Linked DNA regions of Homo sapiens: regions 2, 3, 4, 5 and 6 are each linked to region 1. Evidence: promoter capture Hi-C in 16 types of primary human blood cells and fetal thymus (Javierre and others, 2016). All regions are on one chromosome and are shown on one strand. The core of a region is centred on a gene start or on the middle of the fragment in contact, and the rest is flanking DNA. Distances in the headings are between cores, read along the strand shown. Region 1 holds the start of SEC13 (SEC13 homolog, nuclear pore and COPII component). Region 2 holds the start of MTMR14 (myotubularin related protein 14). Region 3 holds the start of CAMK1 (calcium/calmodulin dependent protein kinase I). Region 4 holds the start of THUMPD3 (THUMP domain 3 tRNA guanosine methyltransferase). Region 5 holds the start of CPNE9 (copine family member 9). Region 6 holds the start of TADA3 (transcriptional adaptor 3).

What was found. Contacts are between HindIII fragments. The CHiCAGO score rates a contact against its expected background, and 5 or more counts as called.
Region 2: the fragment with the promoter of MTMR14 here is called in contact with the fragment with the promoter of SEC13 in region 1 in 1 of 17 cell types (monocytes); the score reaches 5.5 in monocytes.
Region 3: a contact is called between the fragment with the promoter of CAMK1 here and the fragment with the promoter of SEC13 in region 1, in 2 of 17 cell types (monocytes and total CD4 T cells). The highest score is 6.2, in monocytes.
Region 4: a contact is called between the fragment with the promoter of THUMPD3 here and the fragment with the promoter of SEC13 in region 1, in 10 of 17 cell types (activated CD4 T cells, total CD8 T cells, total B cells and 7 more). The highest score is 14.9, in activated CD4 T cells.
Region 5: the fragment with the promoter of CPNE9 here is called in contact with the fragment with the promoter of SEC13 in region 1 in 1 of 17 cell types (monocytes); the score reaches 5.5 in monocytes.
Region 6: the fragment with the promoter of TADA3 here is called in contact with the fragment with the promoter of SEC13 in region 1 in 6 of 17 cell types (activated CD4 T cells, naive CD8 T cells, total CD4 T cells and 3 more); the score reaches 7.5 in activated CD4 T cells.

Annotation. Positions count from the first base shown.
Region 1 is chr3:10,319,067-10,323,177 of GRCh38, forward strand. SEC13 (SEC13 homolog, nuclear pore and COPII component) reads right to left here and starts at 2,046. Exons shown (of 9, transcript NM_183352.3): 1 at 1,984-2,046. The coding sequence starts at 1,986. RefSeq lists enhancers at 1,712-2,011, 1,759-2,354 and a silencer at 2,202-2,281. The HindIII fragment of the contact is 12,357 bases long and covers 1-4,111 here.
Region 2 is chr3:9,647,775-9,651,917 of GRCh38, forward strand. It overlaps MTMR14 (myotubularin related protein 14), which reads left to right and starts at 1,731. Exons shown (of 19, transcript NM_001077525.3): 1 at 1,731-1,968. The coding sequence starts at 1,810. RefSeq lists enhancers at 1,326-1,555, 1,363-2,258, 1,545-1,714 and silencers at 1,586-1,695, 1,796-1,895. The HindIII fragment of the contact is 16,951 bases long and covers 1-4,143 here.
Region 3 is chr3:9,768,312-9,772,916 of GRCh38, forward strand. CAMK1 (calcium/calmodulin dependent protein kinase I) reads right to left here and starts at 1,636. Exons shown (of 12, transcript NM_003656.5): 1 at 1,521-1,636. It also overlaps a transcript of OGG1 not described here. RefSeq lists a silencer at 1,407-1,586. The HindIII fragment of the contact is 10,493 bases long and covers 288-4,605 here.
Region 4 is chr3:9,361,334-9,365,980 of GRCh38, forward strand. It overlaps THUMPD3 (THUMP domain 3 tRNA guanosine methyltransferase), which reads left to right and starts at 1,721. Exons shown (of 10, transcript NM_001114092.2): 1 at 1,721-1,794; 2 at 3,683-3,987. The coding sequence starts at 3,736. It also overlaps a transcript of SRGAP3 not described here. RefSeq lists enhancers at 1,451-1,660, 1,881-1,940, 2,011-2,090, 2,111-2,170. The HindIII fragment of the contact is 4,632 bases long and covers 1-2,309 here.
Region 5 is chr3:9,701,369-9,705,507 of GRCh38, forward strand. It overlaps CPNE9 (copine family member 9), which reads left to right and starts at 2,465. Exons shown (of 21, transcript NM_153635.3): 1 at 2,465-2,696; 2 at 3,219-3,259; 3 at 3,381-3,427; 4 at 3,523-3,626; 5 at 4,096-4,132. The coding sequence starts at 2,629. MTMR14 (myotubularin related protein 14) reads left to right here. Exons shown (of 19, transcript NM_001077525.3): 19 at 422-1,025. The coding sequence ends at 605. RefSeq lists an enhancer at 2,104-3,014. The HindIII fragment of the contact is 18,760 bases long and covers 1,748-4,139 here.
Region 6 is chr3:9,791,088-9,795,654 of GRCh38, forward strand. It overlaps TADA3 (transcriptional adaptor 3), which reads right to left and starts at 1,386. Exons shown (of 9, transcript NM_006354.5): 1 at 1,129-1,386; 2 at 173-406. The coding sequence starts at 379. It overlaps ARPC4-TTLL3 (ARPC4-TTLL3 readthrough), which reads left to right and starts at 1,461. Exons shown (of 12, transcript NM_001198793.1): 1 at 1,461-2,037. The coding sequence starts at 2,035. ARPC4 (actin related protein 2/3 complex subunit 4) reads left to right here and starts at 1,995. Exons shown (of 6, transcript NM_005718.5): 1 at 1,995-2,037. The coding sequence starts at 2,035. RefSeq lists enhancers at 1-213, 1,318-1,844, 1,771-1,870, 1,845-2,371, 2,571-2,660 and silencers at 1,201-1,290, 1,351-1,640. The HindIII fragment of the contact is 10,858 bases long and covers 1-4,567 here.

The sequences.
Region 1 (4,111 bases), core at 796-3,295:
CTCTTCTCTTAAATTCTTGGGATAGAAAAGAGGACTTAAAAGAAGTTTCAGTGTGGAACAGACATTTCTTACCATTTTCCCCATTTCATCTTTTCCAGCACAAGCCCTGTAGGTATAAAGTTTGACTTGTGATTTCAGAAAGGCAGACAGTGGAAGAGGATGGCTGCAAAGCAGTTCAAGAGGTACACACCAAGTAAGCACAGGTTCTCTCATCAGATTCTAGACTCTCTAAAAACCAGGTCCCCGAAGTCTGCAAAGGCAAGTAAGGACAATAAGGAGTTTCCTCCATGTGCCGAGCTGTATAGGTTACAAAGTGCACAGGAAGGCGGGGAGGGCAGGGTACCAAGGGCACAGTCAATCAGAGACCTGCGACAGACTAAGGAAATGAAGAAGCCCAGAGAAGAGAAAGCACTTGCCAAAGTCACAGAGCTAGTTCAAGGCAGACCTGGGAAAAGAGCCCCATCCCCTAACCTTCTAATGCTGAGTCCACAAAACTTCACTCCACCAGGCTGCCTGTCTAGAATGTAAAGCAGTTGTTACACTGAGTTCTGTAAAGCTGCGGTTAAGTAGGTTCACGAAGAAAGTTTACTGAGAGGTAGTTTCAACCAGGTTACCAAAGGACCTTAGAAATAATCAGCATTTAATTCTAACCACTCTCACCCACCAGTCAGGGTTGATGAACCACACTTCTGAATGAGAGAGAGAGAGAGAGAGAGAGAGAGAGAGAGAAGGCGGGGGGGGGGGGGGGGGAGGAAAGAGGGAGGGGGAGAGAAAAGGACGGAAGGAAGGAGGAAGGGCGGGAGAGAAAGGGAGAGGGAGAGGAAGGGGGGAGGAAGAGGGAGCGGGGAGAGAGAGAGAGAAGAGAGGGAGGGGGAGAGAGAGAAAGGGAGAGGGAGAGGAAGGGGGGAGGGAGAGGGAGTGGGGAGAGAGGGAGGGTGGGGAGAGAGAGAGAGAGAGAGAGAACTTCTTAGAGTACTTCTTCCCAGGGACCTGGTATTATCTGGTCCCTGTTAACACCTGCACTCAAAATAATTCACCTCTTTGAGATCAGATAATGAGTTAAAAATTCATTTAGGATGAGCTGAATGTCAGAGCATAAAAGCCTCAACTCTAACCTGCAGTGGAAGAGCCAGAGGTGAGTGATTTACACCTAACCCTCTGCAGAACAAGAACACAGTGTTCTGATTTCTAGGTTCCTGCAGGTTCCCTCAAACCTGCTGCTGAGACACACCCATGTTTCTAAAAGAATGCATGTACTAGATATTCCAGGCTCAGCCCAGATACTTCCATTCTTTAGTTCTCCTTCAGTCATTCATTCACTCAAGGAGTAAGTGTGGAGTGAATGTACACTGCAGATGCCACAGAGACTTAAAAAACCCTGAGCCCCTGCCTTCGGAGGGTCGTTCAGGCCATCTTTACGTTTCCCGAGGTGCCCATCCTACCTGGGGGCCCTACCCCGAGCAACAGTTCAATCATCTCTGCTGGGAGCTGCAGTAGGCGGCAGAAAGGAATGGTTAGGAGGGTTCAAATCTCGGCTCTACTACCACTTAAGCAGCTGTGCAAGAGGCTCCACGTCTCCGAACCTCAAGTGTCCTCATCTGTAAAGTGTTGAGAAGAATAGCACCTTCTTCACAAGGCTGTTAGCAGGCGGAGATTACGAACAATGCTGAGGGCTCGGTATACAGTAGCTCCTCTGCTGTTCCTCGTTTTGTTTTCAATTGTTGACCGAAAAGAAGGAAGGGAGACTGGCAGGAGACGCAGGAGCGGCGCGCCCCGCAAAGTCAGGGAGGTTCCTCGGCCTCACCTCTGGACTCCCCTCGGAATGGTCCGCAAGGACGGGGCCAGAGCCCCCCAAATCTCTAAGCGGTGGAGGGGAGCTGAACGGCTCCAGCTTGGGATTTGGGACTCAGGACGGCCGAGGAACCCGTGAAGGCCGCGACCGTGGCCTTCACCCTGCTAGGCCTCCTCAGTACCAACACTCACCATGATTGCGGCGGTGGCTGCTCCAGGTCTCGGACGTGGCAGCTCCCGGCGGCGCCTCGGAACAGCTCACTTCCGGCGCCGGGCCCGACGGGCCGTGGCGTAGGAGCCTCCGGGCAGCAACGCGCTCGGCTCGCACAGCAGTTCCGCGCCTTCCAGAGGGCGCGCCCCGCCCTCCCGTGGCCCAGCCCCTATCCTCCAGTGACGTGCGAGACCAGAGGGCTGGGGCTCTGGTTGCCGCAGTTACCCTGACCCGGAGGGCTTTGGAATCTGAAGCTCTGGTGGGTCTACTCTCCCGACCAAGTCTGCCCTTTTCCTGAGATCCATAAATGAAAGAAAGGATTAATATAACTATCGGCCGGGCGCGGTGGCTCATGCCTGTAATCCCAGAACTTTGGGAGGCTGAGCTGGGGGGTGGATCACCTGAGGTCAGGAGTTCGAGACCAGCCTGGCCAACATGGTGAAACCCCGTCTCTACCAAAAATACAAAAATTAGCCGGGCATAGTGGCGCGCGCCTGTAGTCCCAGCTACAGGCTGAGGCAGGAGAATCGCTGGAACCCGGGAGGTGGAGGTTACAGTGAGCCGTGACTGCACCATTGCACTCCAGCCTGGGCAACAGAGAGACACTCTTGTAAAAAAGAAAAAAATCTATCTATCTATCTATCTATCTATCTATCTATCTATCTATCTATCTATCATCTATCTATCTGCAGCTTCACCCGCCTCACTACGGCTCTGGGTGCGACTGGTCTTATGATGAATGTTGTAGGATGAGTGACATCTTAGGAGTAAGTAGACTGTCCTAGTGCTTCCTTGTTGTAGTCTCCCTCTCAGTACCCAAGGACTGGGACCAGGGCAGAGGAGGCCAGGGAATGCCCCTCGCCAGAGGCTGGGACCTCTGGCCCTGCCATCCCTAACCCCTATATAGGACTGCCCCTTCCAAACCGATCCCCTGGGGTCCTGAGTAAGTCCCATCAAGGAGACCCCCCTAGGCAATGAAGGATCTCAGCCAGGCTCCTGCAGCTAGAGCCCCAGACCTAATCCTCAGGGTCCCCAACCCCAGGTCTCTGGCTTCACAAGGTAGGGCAGCTGAAGGCTCCCCACAAGCGCAGTGAGAATGCCACACTGGAGGACAGAGCCTGGGCTCCCCGCCTCAGCCACATATGGTCTAGCCCTGGGCCCCTTGTGACATTAAGGAGGCAGATGAGCTGGGGGAGGCCTTGGCTCCCCTTGGGCAAGTCACAGTCCTTCAGTTTCCTCTGCTGAAACTGGGAGTAAGGACCCTAGCTGGAGATGGTCACTGCTTGAAGGAAGATGTTAAGGCTCAGAGAATGTGATAGACCCAAACTGTCAAGGAGCTTTGGAGGGGAGGCCAGGGGAGTAGGGTGTTAGAATTAAGGGCCAGGCCTCTGGGCAACTCTTCTACCCCACTGCAGCTTTCAAGATTTTTTATTGCCCTCTAGTGGAGAAATTGTTGCAGGGGTGTGAGGGGGTGGTGGTTAGGTTAGAGCAGGGAACAAAGGCAGGTTTCAGGGGATCTCTTGGATCTCCTGTTGTTTTTTTTGTTTTTTTTTTTTTGGAGATGGACTCTAGCTCTGTTGCCCAGGCTGGAGTCCAGTGGTATGATCTTGGCTCACTGCAACCTCTACCTCCCGGGTTCAAGCAATTCTCCTGCCTCAGCCTCCTGAGTAGCTGGGATTACAGGCATGTGCCACCATGCCTGGCTAATTTTTGTAGTTTTAGTAGAGATGGGGTTTCACCATGTTGGCCAGGCTGGTCTCAAACTCCTGACCTCTGGTGATCTACTCTCCTCGGCCTCTCAAAGTGCTGGGATTACAGGTGTGAGCCGCTGCGTCCTGCCAGATCTCCTGTTCTTCAAGGAACAGGCTCTGGCCTTGGCTCTATAGCTGCACCACTGACTTTCTAGGTGATAAGGCCAAGTCACTTTTCTCTGAGCCTCACTTTCTTTGAGTGGAAAATGAGGACAAGGGCATATTAGATGTAAATATAATGCATCAGGCATAATTGTGATTAAAAGAATTTCCTTGTGTAGACACTGATGTTGAAGAGATTGGGGATTTGTGACAAGCAACAGAACTGTATCTTATTCATTAAGGTATTTGCTGTAAG
Region 2 (4,143 bases), core at 481-2,980, 670 kb before region 1:
GCCACTGTACTCCAGCTTAGGCAACAAGAGTGAAACCGTTTCTAAAAAAAAAAAAAAAAAAAAAATTAAATTAAATTAAAAACCAATCTACCGTATTAAAACTCTAGAAGCCAGGATAGTGATTAACTGGGGGTGGGAGGAGTTGGGGGGGCAGGGTGGTGGGTGGTTGTTGGTGAGTGGGTAGTGACTGAAAGTGGTCAGGAGGAGGGTTCCGGGGCGCTGGTGTACATATCATACTTCTATTAAAAGTTTAACAAAAACGAATTACTTTCATTCAGACTGGGTATTAGACCACATTAAGGAATATTGTTAATTTTCTTAGGCATGTTAATAGCCTTATATTTTTTATGTATTTTTTTTTTGAAGTACAAATCTGTTGTGATAAATGCTTAAGTATTCACAGCTGAAATAATGTGATGTCTGGGATTTGCTTTAAAATAATTCCCTGGATGGGAAGGGACTGCTTAAACAGGATAGATAAGCAGATGTTGATTATTGTTCAAAACCAGTTAATGGGTACATGAGGGTTCATTATACTATTGTCTCCACTTTTGCGAATGTCTGAAATATTCTAATAATAATAATAATGAGAGGCTTCTCATCACAGAATTTCAAGGCAGTCGCTTCACCTCCCTGACTCCCAGTTTCTACCTCAATAAAATAGGGCTGATGATATAATGCACTGTACTCACAGGGATGTTGTGAGCAGCAGGGGGAGAAAGGGTTTTATGAAATGTTGTGTTTTTGTTTTTGTTTTAGAGACGGAGTCTCATTCTGTCACCCAGGCTGGAGTGCAGTGGCGCGATCTCGGCTCACTCTCCGCCTCCCGGGTTCAAGCAATTCTCCTGCCTCAGCCTCCCGAGTAGCTGGGATTACAGGCACCTGCCACCACGCGCGGCTAATTTTTGTATTTTTAGTAGAGACGGGGTTTCACTGCGTTGATCAGGCTGGTCTCGAATGCCTCACTTCATAATCCGCCTGCCTCGGCCTACCAAAGTGCTGGGATTACAGGCGTGAGACACCGCGGCCGGCTGAAATGTTTTAATATTGGTAACCACTGCCATTATGGTTTCTAGTACTAATTTGTTGCCTCCAAGCGTTCTCTCCTCCTCGCCCTGTAATTTTTTTTTTTTCTTAAGACAGAGTATTGCTCTGTCACCCAGGCTGGAGTGTAGTGGTTCGATTTCGGCTCATTGCAACCTCAGCCTCATGGGTTCAAGCGATTCTCCTGCCTCAGCCTCCCAAGTAGTTGGGATTACAGGTGGGTGTCACCATGCCCGGCTAATTTTTTTATTTTTAGTAGAGATGCGGTTTCACCATTTTGGCAGCCTGGTCTCGAACTCTTGGCCTCAAGTGATCCGCCCGCCTCGGCCCCCCAAAGTGCTGGGATGACAGGTGTGAGCCACCACGCTCGGCTTCCCTGTAATTGTTGATTCCACTTTTCCTCTGGTTCTTTTCAATGGTTCCTTCCTGCTACCCCCCTCCCCCGGCAGCCCAATGGTTGAGCCCGGCTTCCCCGGGGGAAACCCCTTGGGGCGGATCACGCGGTATCAGCCAGTGGCCTCCCTGGTGGATAGAAGGATCGCTCTGCGCCGGGGGCGGGCCAGTAATCGTAGGCGGGGCGCGGGTCCAGAGCTCCGATTGGCCAGAGTCGGAGTAAACATCCGGCGGGACGGGGCGGGGCCGGAAGTGGAAGTGGAAGTAGAAGGCGGTGGCTGAGGCGGTTCCGGAGGTTCTAGTGTCGGAGTTGGGTGCAGGCAGGTGCCATGGGCCCGCTTGAGGCACACTGAGGGGACGCGGGGCTGGGCCATGGCCGGCGCTCGGGCCGCCGCCGCCGCTGCCTCGGCGGGGTCCTCGGCCTCTTCAGGCAACCAGCCGCCTCAGGAGCTGGGGCTTGGGGAGCTGCTGGAGGAGTTCTCCCGGACTCAGTACCGGGCCAAGGATGGCAGCGGGACCGGCGGCTCTAAGGTGAGATTGGAGGTGCGATGAGCTGGGGAAGGCTCCTAACTTGGGAAGTTACAGAGGAAAGGCTGAGGCCAGGGGTCAGAAAAAGGTAGGAGTGGTACCTCGCCGCTGAGGAAGAGGAGAGAGAGAGAGGAGTTCTCCAGGGTCTGTATCCGGAGTATAAGAGTCGGTCTTGACAACCATAAAAGGAGGAACTGGGGTCAGAATGAGCCCAGCAAAGAGGTCCTTCTTGTTTGAGAAGGGGTCTGGAGGTGAGAGATCAAGCTGAGGGGCCAGGTTCAAAGATCAGAGAGGAGGACCTAAGGAAGGTCTATTCCCTGCTTCAGGTGCCGTAGGATGAGTTGTGTCAGGGAAAAAGCCCCAAGAAAAAGCTAAGAAAAATAGGGAGACGATTCCTCGGGGTCAGAGGTCAGAATGGAGCCAGGAGGTGAACCCAGTGTGCTGCCCCCTTATAAGGTCTCAGCATGACTTAGGCCCATCCCTTTCCTTCCCCTATAGAGCAGGAAGACAACCCACACTCCCTTTCAGTTCCTTTATCTAAAGCAGGTCTCCGTTCCTCTTTTTGCTCCCTTTGGGATTTCCACCCAGTCGTCTTATCGCCAGACCTGGAGGGCTTCCTGTCAGCTCAGGCCATCCCCACCCTAAGCACTGGCTGGCAGTGCGGTGGGAATCTTGCCGACCCTGCCATCTCATTCCCCCACGTGGTTTTGGCAGCTTTAGCACCAAGTTTTCCAGTGGAATTCTGTTCCATCCTGCACCACAGAACTCTGATTTGACCTCAGAGATTACCGTGAGTTGCTATTCTGTAGTTGGCATCTTGTAGTCTCTGAAGTAACCCAGGGAAGACTTCAGTAAGGATTGGACTTCCTCACTCTCCAAATGGCCAAGTAATTTTTCCAAGTATAGTCTGGGGACCACCTGTTTAATGATCATCTGGGGTACTTTTAAAATTTGTGCTTATGGGATACTTTGTGAAAACAGAGATTCCTTAGTCCCACCCAGTCCTACCAAGTCAGAATTTCTGGGGGTGGGATCCTGGAATTTGCTTTTTTTTTTTTTTTCTTTTGAGAAGGAGTCTCGCTTTGTCGCCTAGGCTGGAGTGCAGTGGCGCAATCTCAGCTTACTGCATCCTCCGCCTCCCCAGTTCAAGCAATTCTCCCTGCCTCAACTTCCCAAGTAGCTGGGATTACAGGACCCCACCACCACGCCCAGCTAATTATTGTAGTTTTTAGTAGAGATGGAGTTTCCCCAGGTTGGCCAGGCTGGTCTTGAACTCCTGAGCTCAGGTGATCCGCCTACCTCAGCCTCCCAAAGTGCTGGGATACAGGCGTGAGCCACCGCGCCTGGCTTTTTTGTTTGTTTGTTTTTGTTTTTTGTGTTGAGACAGGGTCTCGCTCTGCTGCCCAGGCTGGATTGCAGTGGTGCAACCATGACTTACTGCAGCCTCGAAATCCTGGGTTTGAGCGATCCTCCCACTTAAGCCTGCCAAGCACCTGGGACCACAGGTACACACCACCATGCCTGGCTAATTTTTCTTTATTTTCCTAGAGACATGGTCTCGCTATATTGCCCTGGCTGGTCTCAAACTCCTAAGCTCAAGCAATCCTCCCACCTCAGCCCCCCAAAATGCTGGGATTACAGGCGTGAGCCGCCACACCTGGCCAGTAAGGGTCTTTTGAGTGGCTGTAGGTCATTGGTTTTTCTGGACCCCTCTTCCAACTTACATGACCCTGAAGATTAGGGTTAGCATAAGTTACACCTCATATTGGCTGCGGCTGGCCTTAATTATCTCTCCAGGCCTTCTGATCTCCTGCAAACTTAGATGTATATATATTTATATGTATTTATAACAATTCAGGCAGAACAGGGAGTTAGATCTGTAACTGAACAATCGATTGAGATAACTCACTACCTTTGGACTAACTTCTTGCAAACTTTTTTTTTCAGAAGGAGTCTCCCTCTGTCACCCAGGCTGGAGTGCAGTGGTGCGATCTTGGCTCGCTGCAACTTCCACCTCCTGGATTCAAGCGATCCTCCTGCTTCAGCCTCCCTAGTAGCTGGGACTACAGGCATGCACCATCATGCCTGGCTAATTTTTTTTTTTTTTTTTGAGATGGCGTCTCACTCTGTCGCCCAGGCTGGAATGCAATGGCGTGATCTCGGCTCACTGCAACCTCC
Region 3 (4,605 bases), core at 386-2,885, 550 kb before region 1:
TTACCACAGCAACAACAGCCACAGCTGGAGCTCCCCAGACCTCTCCCTCCTGACTCCCCATCTGGGTCCCGGGAGCATGAGAAATGGTCCTGCTCACTCTGTCCCTTCCTGGCCCCATCTAACCCTATCCAGCCTGGCCCTTCCTCTGCTGAGGTCTGTCTCATCCAGCAGGAGAGGGTGGGAGTTCTCTCCCATTTATCAGATGAAGAATGGGGAGACTGAGGTTGGAGTTAGGTAGAGGCTGGCTCCAGAGGCCCTAATGACACCTGGCCTGGGGCCCCCAGCTAAGCTTGCTGAGGGCAAAGGCCATCGAATGGCCTTGGCTGGTACTTCCAATATGAAGCCAGAATGGGCCCCATTCAGAGAACACAGCCTCCCAACCCATCCACAGATGAGGCCAAAACAGAGCCCAGCATGCTTTGTGACCTCAGGGAGAGCACTTTCCTTCTCTCTTTTTCTCTAAGGGAGAATGAGGAGAAGGTGCCCTGACTAGGGCCTCTGGTGTGAGATTCCACTCCTGGAACAGGACCTTTTTCCCAGGGGACCCTGCCCACCCATCCAGGGGCAGAATCTTCTAGGAAAGGAGACTCGAGTGTAAGCTCTAGAGGCAGAGTCTGAAACCCACATGGAGGCCTACCAAATACAACCCTCACAGATCCACACACATCCCTGTAGCAGACATGCCACACCAAGCCCCCTCCACAGCCCTGAACTCAAACACCTGCCTCCCAGATCCAGTACGCCTTGTATCCACATCCCGTGACACCTGATCATACATGTACTCCCAGACATCAGCACACATGTCCACACCACACAGTGCCCCAGACAGCCCTGCACCCGAACACCTGCCTGTCCATCCAAACATCCCTCACCCAGCTCCCTCTTACACCCCAAAACACACATCCACCCGCACCCACACAAGATGACACCCAGACACACACACACACACCCTCATATACCAGACGTACCCTACACCCTCCAGCTCCTCTACCCCATCCCCTGGAAGCTCCTGTATTCCAAACCAAACCCCAAGTCCTTACACACCTAACTCCAAACATCCTCAGTACACAATTGTACACCCCCTCCTAACTCTGACTTAAGACCCTGAGAGCCAAATACCAGCACACAAAACACGTGGACACCCCTCTGGAACAAAAAACACACAGATTCCCAGATCCTCCACCCATGTCTGACCCACACGCCTGTCCTAAGACAGTACACTCCGCAAGCCCCCCCACCCCATGGATACCTCCAAATGCCCACGCCCTTCCAGTCAGGCCCAGCTGAAGGCGCTCACACAGGCCCCCTTCTCTATTACCCACTCAGTGTCCCATAGGCCCGCCTGGCACCTGCTGGGCCTGGGACAGAGGTGGAGAAAGGCCCAGCCCTGCCCCTCAGGGTCCAGCCCGCCCGGGAGAGTGCCCAGTGGCCACTCCTTGGGAAAGGATACCCAGAGGCTAGGGGCTCCCACCGCCCCCACGCAGCGCCCAGGGGTGCAGGGATGGGGGGCCCGGCTGTACCTGCGGCTGCCCCGCCGCGGGGCTGGCTGGGAGGCCCGCGGTGGTTGGCGCCGAGCTGTGGCCGCGGTCCTCACCGCTGCGTGCCTGGGCCACCCGCCCGCGCTCTTGCTGGAGCTGGGGCTCGGCTCGGCTCGGCGGCTCTCTCCGCCCGCCTGCGGCTCTGATGTCAGTGGAGGTGGAGCCTGCGGCGGAGGGACCCGGGATTGGGAGGCGAGGCACCGCTCCAAGGCTGGGGAAGGGGCACGGGTGGAGGCCATCTCCCTGCTTCTGGTCAGAGATCTCCTGCTGGACGCTTCCCGCCCTTGGTCTTAAGCGGGGTCCATTTCACAGAGGGGACAACTGAGGCCCGGAGAGATGATTTTCAAATCAGCGGGTGGTCGGAAGCAAAGCAGGATTCGAACCCCGTCTGTCTGAAGCTAGAGGCCGGCCAAACTCACCCTGTGGCCTGGTGGATTTTCTTTCAGACCAGTTCTGCGACCTCCCTTAGGGCTCTGTCTCCCTTCTCCGTGCCCTGAAGGGAAACAGGCCCTGGAACTGCACGGGAGTCTGGTGGGGGATGGGGGAGTGAGGGAGTGGGGAAGGACCGGGCAAGACTAGGCAATGAAGAGAGTGGAGGTGGTCGCAGGGTGTGGGCCCCACTTGACAGGTGGGAAGACTGAGGCCCCGGTTCCTCTGCAAGATGGAGCTGAGGCTTCAGCCCCAGACACTTGCTCCTCAGAGCGGGTGGTGGTGCCTAGAGGTATTGGGGGCAGAGGGAATTGGGGAGGAGGAAGTTAAATCGGGATCCTGAAGGAAACAGGCCAAAAAGGACCGAGGTGTCACGTGACTGGCGGGGCTCCAGAGTTTGATGGCTGGGGTCCAGGTTAGGGGAGAGAGCCTGCAACTAGGACGGCAGGCAAGAGGCCAAAGGTCGGTTTGCTCAAGGCCTTCCTTGGGAAGAAATTTGGTGCCGAGTGGAAAGAGGGGGCGGGGGGAGCAACTCGCAGGAATTGGGGATGGGGCTGAACTGGGGGCAGCCGGAGGAGGCACGTTGCTTGGGACCCCACTCCACCTCCAAGGGCCTCCAAGTGCCACTCCCTACTCCTGAATTCTTGCATGTTCCAGCTGGTGATGGGGAGAGAACAGTGCTTATGCCCAGCTCATTTCCTTTTTCTCTTTCTTTCTTTCTTTTTTCTTTCTTTCTCTTCTTCTTTTTTTCTTTTTCTTTTTTTTTTAAGACAGGGTCTTGCTCTGTCACCCAGGCTGGAGTGCAATGGCATGATCACGGCCCACTGCAGCCTCAAACTCCTGGGCTCAAGTCATCTTCCTACCTCAGCCTCCCATGTAGATGGGACTACAGGTGCGTGCCACCACACCTGGCTTTTTTATTTTTTGTAGAGATGGGGATCTCACTATATTGCCCAGGCTGGTCTCAAACTCCTGGGCTCAAGCAATCCTCCCCAATCAGCTTCCCAAGGTTCTGGAATTACAGGCATGAGCCACTGCACCTGGCCAATTTATTATGCCCATCTTACAGATGAGAGAGGAAGATAGCTGAGGTTCCTGGAAAGGCTTTGGAGTCTAACTGATCCTGGTCATGCTTTACCTCTCCGAACCTCAGTTTCTTACTCGGGAACATGGGAATATTGAAGATTGACTCAGAGTTCTGAGAATTCTATGATATAATGATATGAAGTGCCTAGAACACTATTCAAAACATGAGAGCTAGACTCAGTGTAAACTGAGACTCAGAGAGAGGACTTGATTTGGCCAGGGATGAGGGGTTAAGGGATCCATCTTCCAAATCTCAGTATCTCAGACTCCTTAGTTCATGGAAAAATACATTTCCTGCTCAGGGCTGAGCCCCCACTCTCCCCTATACCCACCAAGCACACCCACTGAGCTAGGGGTTCTTTTACCACAAATTCCTGTTCATCTTGATGACAACACCCCCTGGGTGATAAGATGACCTCTGTCCTTTCGAGGACTTGTACAACTTCTTTTTTTTTTTTTTTTTTTTTTTTTTGAGACAGTCTCCCTCTGTTGCCCAGGCTGGAGTGCAATGGTGCCATCTCGCCTCACTGCAACCTCCGCCTCCTGGGTTCAAGCAATTCTCCTGCCTCAGCCTCCCAAGTATCTGGGACTACAGGCGTGAACCAACACGCCCAACTAATTTTTGTATTTTTAGTAGAGATGGGGGTTTCACCATGTTGGTCAGGCTGGTCTCGAACTCCTGACCTCAGGTGATCCACCTGCCTCAGCCTCCCAAAGTGCTGGAATTACAGGCATGAGCTACCGCGCCCAGCTGACTTGTACAGCTTCTATGGTGTGCTTTACATTTTTCCTGCTTTTGAGCATTTCTGAGAGGCCTCGTGTTTTCTTTTCTTTAACAAACACATTATCTTTACTTTCTTAGTATTTCTATTGAACAAGTGATACATGGTCATTGCAGGAAAATTCCATAATGTATTGAAAACACACACAGACTAACTGATGAGATTCTTTCGCTTCCCAAGTGACAGAATGCCAACCTAAACCAGCTTCATCCAAGAGGAATCTATAGTTCACAATAGCTGGCACAAGATTGCAGGAAAAACACCAGAGATTAGGGGCTTGGAGACTGGAACTGGAGATGTAGTACTCATAGGATTTGCTTTCTCTGTCTTCCCTCCTCTCTCCTTGTCTTGATTTTTCTTCACACGTTGGCCTCTTTTTCTCTCCAGAGTGAACTTCTAGTTGGCAGGAAACATGGAGTGAGGCAGCCCCAGCTTTCCAATTAAACACAGTGGAAGGAAAGCATCCTCCCAATTTCCTATCTCATTCTCAGGGAAGGACTCTGGCTCTGCTTGAGTGATAGAGTGACATGTTCACCCCTTGGCCTCCAAAACTGTTGCCAGGAGAATTAGGGTGCTATATTGAGCAAGTGTACTGTAATGGGCAGCCATAAGGAATGGAAGAGGTATCTTGTCCAAAGGAATTAGGGGTGCGAGGGAGGCAAGAATAACACAACACTCTCAGCCGGGCCCCCACCAACCAGAGACAACCAGTGTTCACATTTTTAGTACAATTCTTCCAGATTTTTTGGATGCGTATACATATACATCCT
Region 4 (4,647 bases), core at 471-2,970, 960 kb before region 1:
GCTCAAGCGAGCCACTCACCTCAGCCTCCCAAAGCGCTGGGACTACAGGCATGAACCACCACTCCCAGCCCCTTTGCACATTTATAAATTGTGTTCTTTTTGGTTTTGTTTTGTTTTAAATTCGGTTTATCTTTTTGTTGTTGGGTTCCTTTCACAATAAGTTAACTTTTGTCAACTGAAAAATAAAAATAAAATTCTATGCCCCCCAACTGACTGAACAGGCCCTCTCTTGGCCAAGGAGACCCTAGAAAAAACTTGGAAGCTGAGTTCCTACTCATGACAGGATGGGAAGTCGGACACACCTCTTTATAACCCCTCCCTCTATAATCGCCATTAGATTTTCTTTCCTAAGGGTTAAACAGAAACCAGCCCTTTTGAAAGACTCACTCCACCAGCCTGATGCTGACCCTCCCATTTGCAGTTTCAATAGAACAACCGACTAGCATTCCTTCCTGATAAGAGATCACCCACCATCCAGGGAGTGGTTCTGGCCAGTCGACAGAGGACGTGCAGTGAGGGTTTTCACATCCCCTGCTTCACCTTTTGAAGTCAAGCGGTAGAAAACTCTACCCTTGGATCATGCTAAGGCCACCATTTTTTAAACATGGGATCCACAGAGAGGCATGAAGCTCAACTGCACATGCACAAATTGCTCCTTTCATAAATATTCGTGACCCCTCTTACAGTTTATTTAACATGTATATTTGGCCACTGTGTTTAGCATAAATCCCTGTCTTATTCTTCCAACCCTGGAAGTGCCTGTTTTTGGCTTCTGACTGGAAGCTAGGCTTCCCAGTCTGTCAAAATGGCTACCATGCAGGTTCAACTCTTTTTTTTTTTTTTTTTTTTTTTTTTTGAGATGATGTCTTGCTCCCAGACTGGAGTGCAGTGGCACAATCTTGGCTCTCTGCAACCTCTGCCTCCTGGGTAAGCAACTCTTCTGCTTCATCTTCCCAAGTAGCTAGGACTACAGGTGCAGGCCACCACATCCAGCTAACTTTTGTATTTTTAGTAGAGATGGAGTTTCACCATGTTGGCCAGCCTGGCCTCAAACTCCTGACCTCAAGTGATCCACCCGCCTCAGCCTCCCAAAGTGCTGGGATTACAGGCATGAGCCACTGTGCCCGGCCAGGTTCAACCCTTTATGAGAAATAAAGTTCATCTGATTGGGCACAGTGGCTCATGCCTGTAATCCCAGCACTTTAGGAGGGCTAGACAGAAGAATCACTTGAACCCAGATGTTCGAGACCAGCTTAGGCAACATAGTGAGCCCCACTATTTCTATTTTTTTTAAACTAAAGAAAAATATGAAGTAAACAGTGCTAAAATAGTGATGGCAATACAGAAATCAGGAACTAGTGGCATGACATTTTGAGAAAGATATTTAAATAAGCTGGAGAGACTCGGTGTCTCCAGCTTTAAAACAGAAATCAGTCTCTGCCACTTCATAGGTGCTAGAACAAAAGAGACTTGTTCCAAATGAGATGACGCATGTGAAGCGCTTACCCAGTGCTCGGCAAGGGGAAGCACTCTCTAAACGTTAGCAAATACCATGGTAGGACACAAGGCCCCTGACTCTCCGCTTTCAGCTTACTGAAGATCCTCAAAACCAACAGCACACAGCTTCCAGCGCATGCTCCTTTCCCCAAGACCTTGTGGGGGAACCCGCCGCCAGCGCGGAGCCACCGTGACTCGTAGCCTGACTTCCGTTTCCGGGGGCGGCTTCCGGCGGCGTGACCTGACCGCAAGAGGCCAATGGAGTGTGGGAGCTGAAAGGGTCTTCGCTGGCGGCCGGTAACTGGCGGCGGTTGGGAACGGCCGAGTGTGGCTCTTCTGGTGTTTCAGCTTGGGGAGAGAGGGGTGGCCTTCCTCTTGCAGTTGAGGCCGGCGCCGAGCCGGACTTCAGGCGGATCTCGTGGCGGAGCCCATCTTGCTCCCTCTCCCAGGCCTTTACCCGCTCCCTAGGATTCCCGGGCCCTGTAGGTGGGAGTTGGGAGACGTGAGTTCTCTTTCATTCTGCGCCTCTCATTGGCTCTCTGACCTTGTGCGGAACGCGTCCTTTAGCTGACCTCAGCTGCATTTTTTAGAAGATGGAGATTGTATTCACAGTGACTGTCAGCTTTTTAACGGCGGGAACTGACGTAGTGTTAAACACTGTCGTGTATCGCTGGCACAGCACAAGGACATTATAGGTATTCTGTACTCAATTAAGTTATTTTGAGTCACAGACCTTTTGAAAATCTCGTGTAAGCTATGGCCCCTCCACCTCTCTAATACTTCCCCCGGCCCCCACCCCAAGCACACACAAAAGCTTATGCATAGGAAATTTGTTTTACTATTTCGGATTACTTCCAAGATCTCTCTCCTGATGCCCATCTATGGATCCCAGAGTCTGGCAAGTAGTAGGCGTTTGAACATTTGTAATCATTAGATAGTAAGTATTCAGTTAACCATTTTTATTTTTAATTTTTTCTTTTTTTTTTTTTTTTTTTTTGAGACAGGGCCTCACTGTGTCACCCAGGCTGGAGTGCAGTCCTCCCACCTCAGCCTCCCAAGTAGCTGGACTCCAGGCGCCCACCACCACGCCCAGCTATTTTTTGTGTTTTTGGTAGAGATGAGATTTTGCCATCTTACGCAGATTGGTCTCGAACTCTTGGCCTCAAGCAATCTACTCACCTCAGCTCCCTAAAGTGCTGGGATTACAGGCATGAGCCAGTGTGCCCAGCCCAGTTAATCATTTTTAAATGCATGAAATGCTATTTCACAGGAGGGAAGAAGATAGATAGCCTATTAATAAGTTTTAATTATTGGCCTAACCAGGTACTACTCTCACTTGTCTCCTAACGACTCTAGGAAAGAGGTATTACTAATTACTTAATTACATTTGAAGGTTTGGGAGAATTAATTTGCCATAAGTCATTCAACCTATGATGGTGGAGGCAAGAATTCAAACCTGTATCTATCTGAAACTCCAAAAGCCCCATATTATTATTATTATTATTATTTATTTTATTTATTTATTTATTTTTTTGAGACAGAGTCTTGTTCTGTTACCCCAGCCGGAGTGCAGTGGCATGATCTCAGCTCACTGCAATCTCCACCTCCCGGATTCAAGCAATTCTCCTCCCTCAGCCTCCCAAGTAGCTGGGATTACAGGCTCCCACCACCACACCTGGCTAATGTTTGTATTTTTAGTAGAGACGGGGTTTCACCATGTGGGCCAGGCTGGTCTTGAACTCCTGACCTCAGGCAATCTGCCCGCCTCGGCCTCCCAAAGTGCTGGGATTACAGGTGTGAGCCACCACGCCCAGCCAAGCCCTATATTCTTAACTAACCATGTTCTTAACATCTAGATGCAGAAATGGATTTGAATGTGATCTGCAGTTTCTGTCGTAGTTATGAAATGGCTTTTGTCAACATGGGTTACCCCAAAGCAAACATTGCATGCTATGGAAATACTTCTTGTCTCTTTTTCTCCCATGGTATCTGTATTGCTTCTTTAATAATAACATCATGTTTTACAGCCTGCACTCTGTGCCCATGTTTATTCAACCCTTTTTACTTTGGTGACTGTTTATCAGATGTGTTGCCTTGTTCTTCCTGCCCTCCAGAGCCCATGTTTTTAATTATAACTGAAATATGAGATGATAATATTTGGGCTTTATTTCTTTTTCTTTTAAAGGACAGTACTGCTTTTAAAGAGACAGTGTTAGGGATCTTGGAAGCACAGCCAACATGTGTGACATTGAAGAAGCCACTAACCAACTCCTAGATGTGAACCTTCATGAGAACCAGAAGTCTGTACAAGTGACAGAAAGTGACCTCGGAAGTGAATCTGAGCTTCTAGTCACTATTGGAGCCACTGTACCTACTGGCTTTGAGCAAACAGCTGCAGATGAAGTCAGAGAGAAACTTGGGTCATCATGCAAAATCAGCAGAGACCGTGGCAAGATATATTTTGTCATTTCAGTGGAAAGTCTGGCACAGGTTTGAATGGAGCAATATTTAAAATAGTTTTCTAAGTTGATCATTTTATGGTTACTTTTCATTTTATAGACCCTTCTGGAATCCTTTCTGATTTTCATTGCTCTGCCCCAAATCAGGTGATTTTAAAGTTACTGCATTTTCTATTGAGTACTGATTTGTAATTTTGACTGTAGTTTCAGTATCCCTTAGGACCAAAAGTGTTTCAGATTTTTGGAGGGGGGTGGGGGGAGTTTTGGAATATTTGCATTATACTTGCCAGTTGAGCATTTCTTTTTTTTTTCTTTTTCTTTGAGACAGAGTCTTGCTCTGTCATCAGGCTGGAGTGCAATGGCGCGATCTTGGCTCACTGCAACCTCCGCCTCCCAGGTTCAAGCAATTCTCCTGCCTCAGCCTCCCCAGTAGCTGGGACTACAGGCGCCCGCCACCGCATCTGGCTAATTTTTGTATATTTAGTAGAAACGGGGTTTCACCATCCTGGCCAGGCTGGTCTCGAACTCCTAACCCCGTGATCCACCCGCCTCGACCTCCCAAAGTGCTGGGATTACAGGCCTGAGCCACTGCGCTCGGCCTGCCAGTTGAGCATTTCTAATCTGAAAATCCGAAATGCTGCACTGAGCATTTCCTTTCAGCATTGTGTTGGGGCTCAAAAAGTTTCAGATT
Region 5 (4,139 bases), core at 1,215-3,714, 620 kb before region 1:
AGCCTGGGCAACATGGTAAAACCCTATCATGGTGGCATGTGCCTGTAGTCCCAGCTACTTGAGGGGCTGAGGTGGGAGGATGGCTTGAGGCTACAGTGAGCGCTGATTGTGTCACTGCATTCCAGCCTGGGCAATAGAGTGAGACCTTGTCTCAAGAAAAAAAAAAAAAAGGTTAGTGTCCCAGTAAAAGCTCCTGCTCTAGGTGGGAACAGTAGCCTGAGGGCTTAGAGGAATGGTTTAAGGGAAAACAGGGCCAGATATTTGGGGCCTGAACCACAAGGATAGCATGGCCGTAGGACAGACACTGGCCTTGTACAGTCAGAAGAAGCACAAGGACAGGTGGTATGGAGGGAGGGAGGATGAGGATACTGGGTCCTGTCCCAGGGTAATGTCTTTGTTCTTTCTCTTGACCTCCCCATAGGCTTGCAGCCCTGAGTGATCGAGAGACTCGGCTGCAGGAGGTGCGCTCAGCCTTCTTGGCTGCGTACAGCAGCACAGTGGGGCTTCGGGCAGTAGCCCCCAGTCCTTCCGGTGCCATCGGGGGCCTGCTGGAGCAATTTGCCCGTGGTGTTGGACTCCGGAGCATCAGCAGCAATGCCTTGTGAAGAAGCCAGCCCATGACATTTTCCTGCTCCTCTCTCAGCTGAGCCCTTAGCAGAGAATCAAAGCCATGCCTGGCCGAAGGGGTACTTCCAGGTCAGGGGAAATTTCAGTCCCCCATCTCCATCATGAACATGGCAGCCCCAAAGCTGAGCAAGGCCAAAGACAGGGTTTTCCAACCCCCAGCCTCTTGACTGGTGACCACCACCCCTTCTTGTCACTGTCTCCCACCCACCCCATCTTTGCTGGGATTCCCATCAACTCTCAGAACTGTGTGGGGTTTCCCTGGGGCCTTGTGGAAGCCATGACTTCACAAAGACCCTACCTGTCAGTTCTTGTTTCTGGGGAGGAGGGATCACCTGCACTGAGAATGAGGCAGTTTGACACAGATCACAAAATAAAATCAAAGTCTTTTTGAATAGCCACTCTTGTGTCATCATTTGGTTATTGTCTTTGTGGAGCTACTAGGAAGGTTCTCATTGTCCTTCCTTGTGCTGGACAAGGGGTTTTTATGTGGAGGGCAGGTGAAACAGGAAGAGAACTGGCGACAGGTATACCTCTCCACTCATGAGCCATGGTAGTCCCTGCAGTGGGGACAACACTCAAGACTGTTGAGAGTAGTGGTTCTCGGGCCTAAGCAGGTCCTAGTCACCTAGAGAGCCTGATGAGCTGTGCACATTCCCAGGGCTGCCTGAGCTTTAGCCTTAGGGTTGCTAAGGAAGTTGCCTGGGAATTAGGAGCTGGAGGATCTTCATTTTTTTCAGATTTTTTGAGATGGAGTCTCACTGTTACCCAAGCTGGAGTGCAATGGCACAATCTTGGCTCACTGCAACCCCTGCCTCCTGGGTTCAAGCGATCCTCCTGCCTCAGTCTCCTGAGTAGCTACGTGAACGTGCCACCATCCCCAGCTAATTTTTGTATTTAGTAGAGATGGGGTTTCACCATGTTGGCCAGGCCAGTCTCAAACTCCTGAGCTCAAGTGATCTGCCTGCCTTGGCCTCCTAAAGTGCTGGGATTACAGGCATGAGCCACCGTACCTGACCAGGATCTTCATCTTTAACAAGTTCTGTAGGCAGCAGGGTCCTGGTACGGGTGACCTGCATCCCCTACCTTGAGCCCTGCCTATGGAGGAAGGACTGGCTTCTGAAGCTTTGGAGATAGCAATTGGTGTGCATGTGTGGTGGGTGAGAGCCTGGCTGACCACCACCCTCTTCTACAGTGTAACCTACAGTAGATTGCGTCATGAGAGTGTGTCCGCATCTGTAACGCCATGAAAGTCGTGAGGGTTAAAGGCATGGGCAGACAGCTTTGCACGGTGCTCAACAGCCACCATTTACTGTCATCATTGTGAATACCCAGAGGACAAATCATAAATACCAGTGAATGTTTACTGAGCACTTGCTGTGTGCTAAGTGTTTTCCTTGGGTTATCTCAGTAAAATTTTACAGCACCTAAAGTAGCTGCTGTTAAAGGCCTTTCTGACGGCCTTTCACGGTTGAGCCACAGAGATGTTGAGTAACTTGTCCAAGGTCACACAGCTACTAAGAGATGTACTTTTCCTATTCAGAGACCTAGGCAGGCTGGGAGTGGGAAAAGACAGAAACACTAAGGGAGTGGCTCAGTAAGAGGCAACAATTCCAGTGCCCACCAGGTGCCCCAAATGTTTCAGCATCATGGACAACTCTAGGGGGCTTGGGTTTCCACCCCAGAGACTTGCGCAGGGCAGACTCTACCAAGGTGTGGGTTGGAGTTGGGAGTCGGGGTGAGGTTCCCCGCTGGCTCCAGGCTGCTCCAATGGGGCGGGGGCCGCCCGCAGGGCCGGGCGGGGCTGTGCTGCCATCTGGAGCCGCTGCCGCCGGCGGCCACTGTCAGGGCGCGAGCGGCTGGAGCGCACGCAGGGCTGGAGCGAGTGCAGCCGCCGCCGCCGCCGACACCGCGGCACATGGGCCGGCCCCGCCGCTGCCGTCGCCCCTAGCCCCAGCAGCCCTGGTCTCGCAGCCTCCTGCGGCTCTGGTCGCCCGACCAGCCATGTCTCTCGGCGGAGCCTCCGAGCGCAGCGTCCCGGCCACCAAGATTGAAATTACCGTGTCCTGCCGGTGAGCGGGCCGCGCTGGGGAGGGCTTAGGCACTGGCACTGCCCCAGCCCCAGCCAGCCGCGGGGCTCAGCCTGGGCAGGGGCTAGACCCCCGGGGAGAGGCGAAATTGGCTGGAAAATCACAGCTGATGACAGGGCGAGTAGCTGGTGGGATCGAGAAGCGGGGGGTCTTGGGCAGCCCCACCCCGAAAAAAGGGCTCAGCCTGCGGGTTCAGGGGGTGGGTCGCAGATATCCGGTAGGAGCTCGGCCCCAGGAGGACAAAGTTCTGGGGCGAGCCCTCTTTCCTGGGCCCTTGGAGACAGTGTGGGTGCGTTCGCGTCCAGTCCGCAGAGCCATGGTTCCTGGACAGCGATTTCCGGTGCTGTCCAGAGTGCTGACAGAGCGGACCCCGGCTGGGGGTAGCCATGGGGGACAGAGGTTCGATGCGGGCCCCATGCCTCTCCTCAGTGCCCGGCTCAGAGCCGACTCGAGGCGGGCGGACTCCAGGATGATCCACTCTGTCTGTCTGTTGCTTTTCTCTAGGAACCTGCTAGACCTTGATACCTTCTCCAAGTCCGACCCCAGTAGGCGGCTCCAGGACCGGGAGGGGGAACTTGGGGTCTGGGCGCGACTCAGGGGCGGGTGGAGTCGGGGCCAGGGGTGGGAGCCGACCTGACGTCCTTCCCTCCCCGCCCCCACCTGCAGTGGTGGTGCTTTACACGCAGAGCCGGGCCAGCCAGGAGTGGCGGGAGGTGAGTCCCAGAGCCCCCTCCCGGCCCAGGGCGTCGCCCGGGAATTCCCCTGCCCGTCTGCACGTCCCACGCTGACCCTCCACCCCCCTACCCAGTTCGGACGGACCGAGGTGATTGATAACACGCTGAACCCAGACTTCGTGCGCAAATTCGTCCTCGACTATTTCTTTGAGGAAAAGCAAAATCTGCGCTTCGATGTGTGAGGCCCCGCCTGGAATTCTGGCTTGGCCCGCCCCCGACCTGGATCCGCCCGGAATTCTGGCTGGCCCCACCCCCGCCTCGCCTCCGGCCTGGTTCTTCTCGCAGGCCTCCCTCCCATTCTGAATGGCCCCCTCTAGCCTGAGCCCTGCCCTTTTATGAGATGCGGTCCAGTTCCGTCCCCCGCTCTGGCCCCGCCCACAACTCTGCTCCTATCGCAGCTCCACCTCAGGCCCGACCCCTTCCACACAACCCTGCCCCCAGCAGCCCCTGACTTGGCCTCGGCCCAGGCTTGACCGTCTGACTACTCAGCCCACCCTGACTCCTCCCCAAAAGGAGACCAAAGCTGAATTCGGGTCCACGGCCGCCCATCCCTCCACCCAAAATTTTCACCAAGACTCGGTGCCCGACCCCTTTCCACCCTCTCCCCCACCCAGCCCCACCCCACACCGGTTCCACTCTTTTCCCAGGTACAACGTGGACTCCAAAACCAACATCTCCAAACCGGTGAGCA
Region 6 (4,567 bases), core at 136-2,635, 530 kb before region 1:
ATCATGCATATTCTTGTGTATTTTTTGTGTCATGCAAACCCAGTTTGCGTCTCTCTCCCTCTCCCCACAAACCCCTGTACCCCAAGTCTCAGCATATGGGGCTAACTCAATGACCCATCCCATAACTTGTTGCAGTCCATCTCTGGTGCTGGCCCCTCTCTGGGGTTATCACCTGGGTTTCGGCCTCAAGCACACGCAGGCGCCGGCTGGCAGAAGACAGCAGGGTCTCCAGCTCCAGCTGCAGGGTGTCCAGCTCCTCGATGCCGATGCCATCATCCTCAGAGCGTGCCAGCACTGCCGTGTAGCGGGGACAGACCTTCAGGTGATCCACAGACTTGAAGTCGTGGAACTGCAAGGGGCAGTCTTTCAACTCACTCATGGCCCAGGATATGGGGATCCTGTGGAGCTGGAGAGGACAGGGCCATTGATGGGAGACAAAGTGGTCTGAGAAAAGCCCAAGGGCTTCTTACCTCCAGGGACAGCCTCAAGGAAGCCCAGCTTCAGTCCCTTACTGACAAAATTGATGGCACAGTTCCTACTCACAGGGCACTTAACTGGGTACCAAGCTAGGTGCAGAGCACTTTATCAGTTTATCTCACTGAATTTCTCACTCAGCACCATGAACAAGGACCATTGTGATCTCGTTTTTACAGAGAAAGAAACTGAGACTCTGTAAGGGTGGGTATGTGCCTATGCTTCCAAGATGCAATTTGAACCCCGCTAGTCTTGAGTCTGCACCCTGATCACCATGCTATACTGCTATGCCTTGCCTCGCCTTTCTGATGCTCTTTCCTTCCCTTCTATTTCTCTTGGGTTCTGCTAAGACTTTGAGTTCCAAGCACCCCATTCTTACCATGTTCTCTGGGACTCTTGGCCTCTTTTCTTACCCTATTCCACCTTTCTCCCTTCTCTAGTCACTAACAGTGGTTTAGAACGTGGGCTGGTAAGCCAGACAGACCTGGGTTCAAGCCCAGGCTTTACCATTCTCTACTTATATGCCCCTGAACATGTTATTTGACCTTTTTCAGTCTCAGTTTTTCCATCTGTAAAATGGGGACAAAAGAAGTCTCGGTCTGTTTCCCCATTAAAAGTCTGAATCTGAAAAATGGGGATAACAATAGTACCTACCTCCCTGGGATGTTCTGAGGATTAAGAGATGATGCCCGTCAAGAGCCCAGTTCAGTGTCTGGCACAGAAGTGGGACTGTTTAATGGCTGGCCCCGCCCGGGGGTCGCCCAAATGTCCCGCCTTCAGAGTCCTCGTTCTCTAGGGACACCCTAGTGCGACCCCCGCCCCCTCTACCTCCTCGCTGCGGCCTCCTACGGCCCCAGGGGCCGCGGGAGGGGGCGGGGAGTTCCGGTCGATGTGAGCAACCGCCCCGGAACTGGCTATGGGCGGGCCCCTTGCAGTTGACGCGGGGGCGGGGAGTCAGCGAGGGCGAGCCTACTGGAGTTTGCCGGGGGTGGGAAGAAGGTGGGCCTCGAGCAAAGCCGCTAGAGGTGGGGTGCGGGTGGTCGGCCTCAGGCGAGCCCCGGGGCACAGCCCGGGGCGGGAGGCGGAGCTTGGCGGCCGAGATCTCCGCGCTGCAGTTAGCCCCGCCGAGCGCCAGGAGCTGCGGGTAGGAGGGGCGAGAGAAAGGATGGGGGTACAGAACCGGAAGAAACGAAGGGCTCGTCCGCTTCGGCTTGTCCTAATTTGGTGCCCAATCTGAAGCTGGGCTGTACCATTGCATACCTGGGGGAGGCTGTGGCAAAGGTGACAAGAAGGCCGAAGGCACAAAGGGAAGCTGCACCCATTCCTGGAGGAGCTTAAATAGTGACTCGAGTGCAAGAATTTAAAAATACCGAGACAGCCCTAGGTGGAAAACTTCCGGAAGGCCCAAGCGTTCGTAAGGGCTCTCTACCCCGCTCGGAGCATAGATGGTACCGTCCGGAAGTCCGGGCGGAGACCGTAGCTGCGCTTCTCGCGAAAGGGCAGGCATCGCGGGGCTGGCCACTTCCGTACTTCCGCTTTCCGGCCCAGCCAGCGCCCGCGATGGTGAGAGAGCCGGGCCCCCGGCCAGGGACCCCCGGCTGTTCGGCCTCAGGGCAGTGGGTCGGTGGGAGATGTGGCTTTGCCGCAGGGGCGCGGGGCCGAGGGATGTCCGGGGGTTGTGGGGACACGATGAGGGTGGGAAAAAGAGACGGGGCGGGGGCCCGAGGTGAGGAAGGGGCGAGTGGGGGTACTCCCTGGTATGAAGTGGGCCTTGTGGCTTCACGGTCAGCCTTCGAAGCAGGTAGGGGCTTTTCCTGAGCCCTGTAGGAACCCGGAAGTGGGGTCTCCTAGGCTCTTTGGAGCATTTCGAGGGTACGTAGTCGGCCTCTTAGCCTCTGAGGCATGAAGCAAGTCCACCTGCCTATCCACAGTGGAACTTCACGACATACGCCCTTTGTCCTCTTCTGCCTTCCTGACCCTACAGTTGCTTAAGGCAGGCGGCCACACTTCCTTATCCCATTCTTGGTACCTCCAGCCCTGCTTCCACCCCATTGGAGGATCTCTCGTGTTGCTTCCATTCAGGCCCTTCCTGGTCAGAACTGAACTGTGTCAGCCTTAGTGTATGTTAGCTGTGATACTGCTCATCCCTCCCTTCCTGGAAGTCCTCCCTTTTTCATACATGTGGGCCTTTTTCATACATGTGGGCCTTTTTCATACGTGTGGGCATTCCTGGGAGTTGTGACTTTGGATGACCATCTCCCTCTTCGTCACACCTTCCCTGGTGATACCGATCTAGTCTCCTGGCTTCGATAACTTTCTTCATTCTGATGACTCCTAATCTGGCTTCTCAGCTCTCTTTCAAGGTTTGCCTGGATATCTTGAAGAGACCTTGAAATTAGACCTCTAGTTCAAAACTCATATTCTATTCTAAATTTGTTCTTCCTCCTGGGTTCCCTATCCTGGCAAACTTTTGTGACCTCATGTCTCTGCTAAAAATCTGTATTTTTTTTTTCTAGTGGGGCACATGCCTCTTGATTTTTAAAAGTTCAAGTTTATTGAGGTATTACATGAGACTACATCTGTTTTATTCATGAAAGGACAGGCGTCACGGAGCCAGTCACCCTTTTTAGGTTTACTTTCTATAACTGTTGACAAAGGCCAGGCGTGGTGGCTCACGCTTGTAATCCCAGCACTTTGGGAGGCAGAGGCGGGCGGATCACGACGTCAGGAGATCGAGACCATCCTGGCTAACACGGTGAAACCTCTTCTCTACTAAAAATGCAAAAAATTAGCCGGGCGTGGTGGTGGGCACCTGTAGTCCCAGCTACTCAGGAGGCTGAGGCAGGAGAATGGCGTGAACCCAGAAAGCAGAGCTTGCAGTGAGTCGAGATCGTGCCACTGCACACCAGACTGGGCAACAGAGTAAGACTCCGTCTCAAAAAAAAAAGCGTTGCAAAAACTTGCTGGGTATGGTGGCATGCGCCTGTAGTACCATCCGCTCAGGACACTGAGGCAGGAGGATCACTTGAGCCCAGAAGTTCGAGGCCGTAGTACACTGTGATCACTCCTGTGAATAGCCACTGCACTTCAGCCTGGACAATATAGCAAGATCCCGTGTCTTAAAAAAAAAAAGTCAAGTTGTGTAACCACTACTGCAACCAAAATACAGAACATTTCCGTCACCCCAAAAAGTTCCCTCAAGCCCTTTTGTAATCAGTCCTCTCCTTCCCACCCCAGACAACTACTGATTTTTCCCCCCTGTAGTTTTGCCTTTTTCAGATTGTCATGTAAATGGAATTCTTTAGTATGCAGGCTTTTAAGTGTGGCTTCTTACCATAATACATTTGAGAGTCAACCATGTTGTGTGTATCAATAGTTACTCTTTTTTTATTACCAAGTAGTAGTTAATTGAATGGCTGGACCACAGTTCGTTGGAAGTGGTTTTTCTTTTTCTTTTTTTTTAAGACACAGTCTCGCTCTGTCACCCAGGCTGGAGCACAGTGGCGTGATCTCGGCTCACTGCAACCTCAGTCTCCTGGGTTCAAGCAATTCTACTGCCTCAGCCTCTCAAGTAGCTGAGATTACAGGCACCCGCCACAGCTAATTTTTTGTATTTTTAGTAGAGACGGGGTTTTGCCATGTTGGCCAGGCTGGTCTTGAACTCCTGACCTGAGGTGGTCCACCCACCTCGGCCTCCCAAAGTGCCGGGATTACAGGCGTGAGCCCCTGGGAAGTTTTTTTTCAGTTCCATTATCCACTCCATCTAATGTCAGTCCAACGCTTGTGATACTCTTTGCTTGTGATACAGTCTGCTGTATGTCTCACTTCCCTCTCCAAATCATTCTCCACAGAGCCATCATGCAGCTGCAGTCATGAACTTCCTCCTCAGAAAGCCCCAGTAGTTCCTTACCCCCTTAAGAGAAAAGCTAAACTTGGTAGCCTGGCATTCAAGATTCCCCATGATCTTACCTCAGCCTACCGCTGCAGCCTCATTTAGTGAATCTAAAATGCTTCTCATATACAGAAACATTGTACTCATTACTACTCTGGAACTCTTGCTGTCCTTTTGTGTTACTCTAATCTTAATTATTTC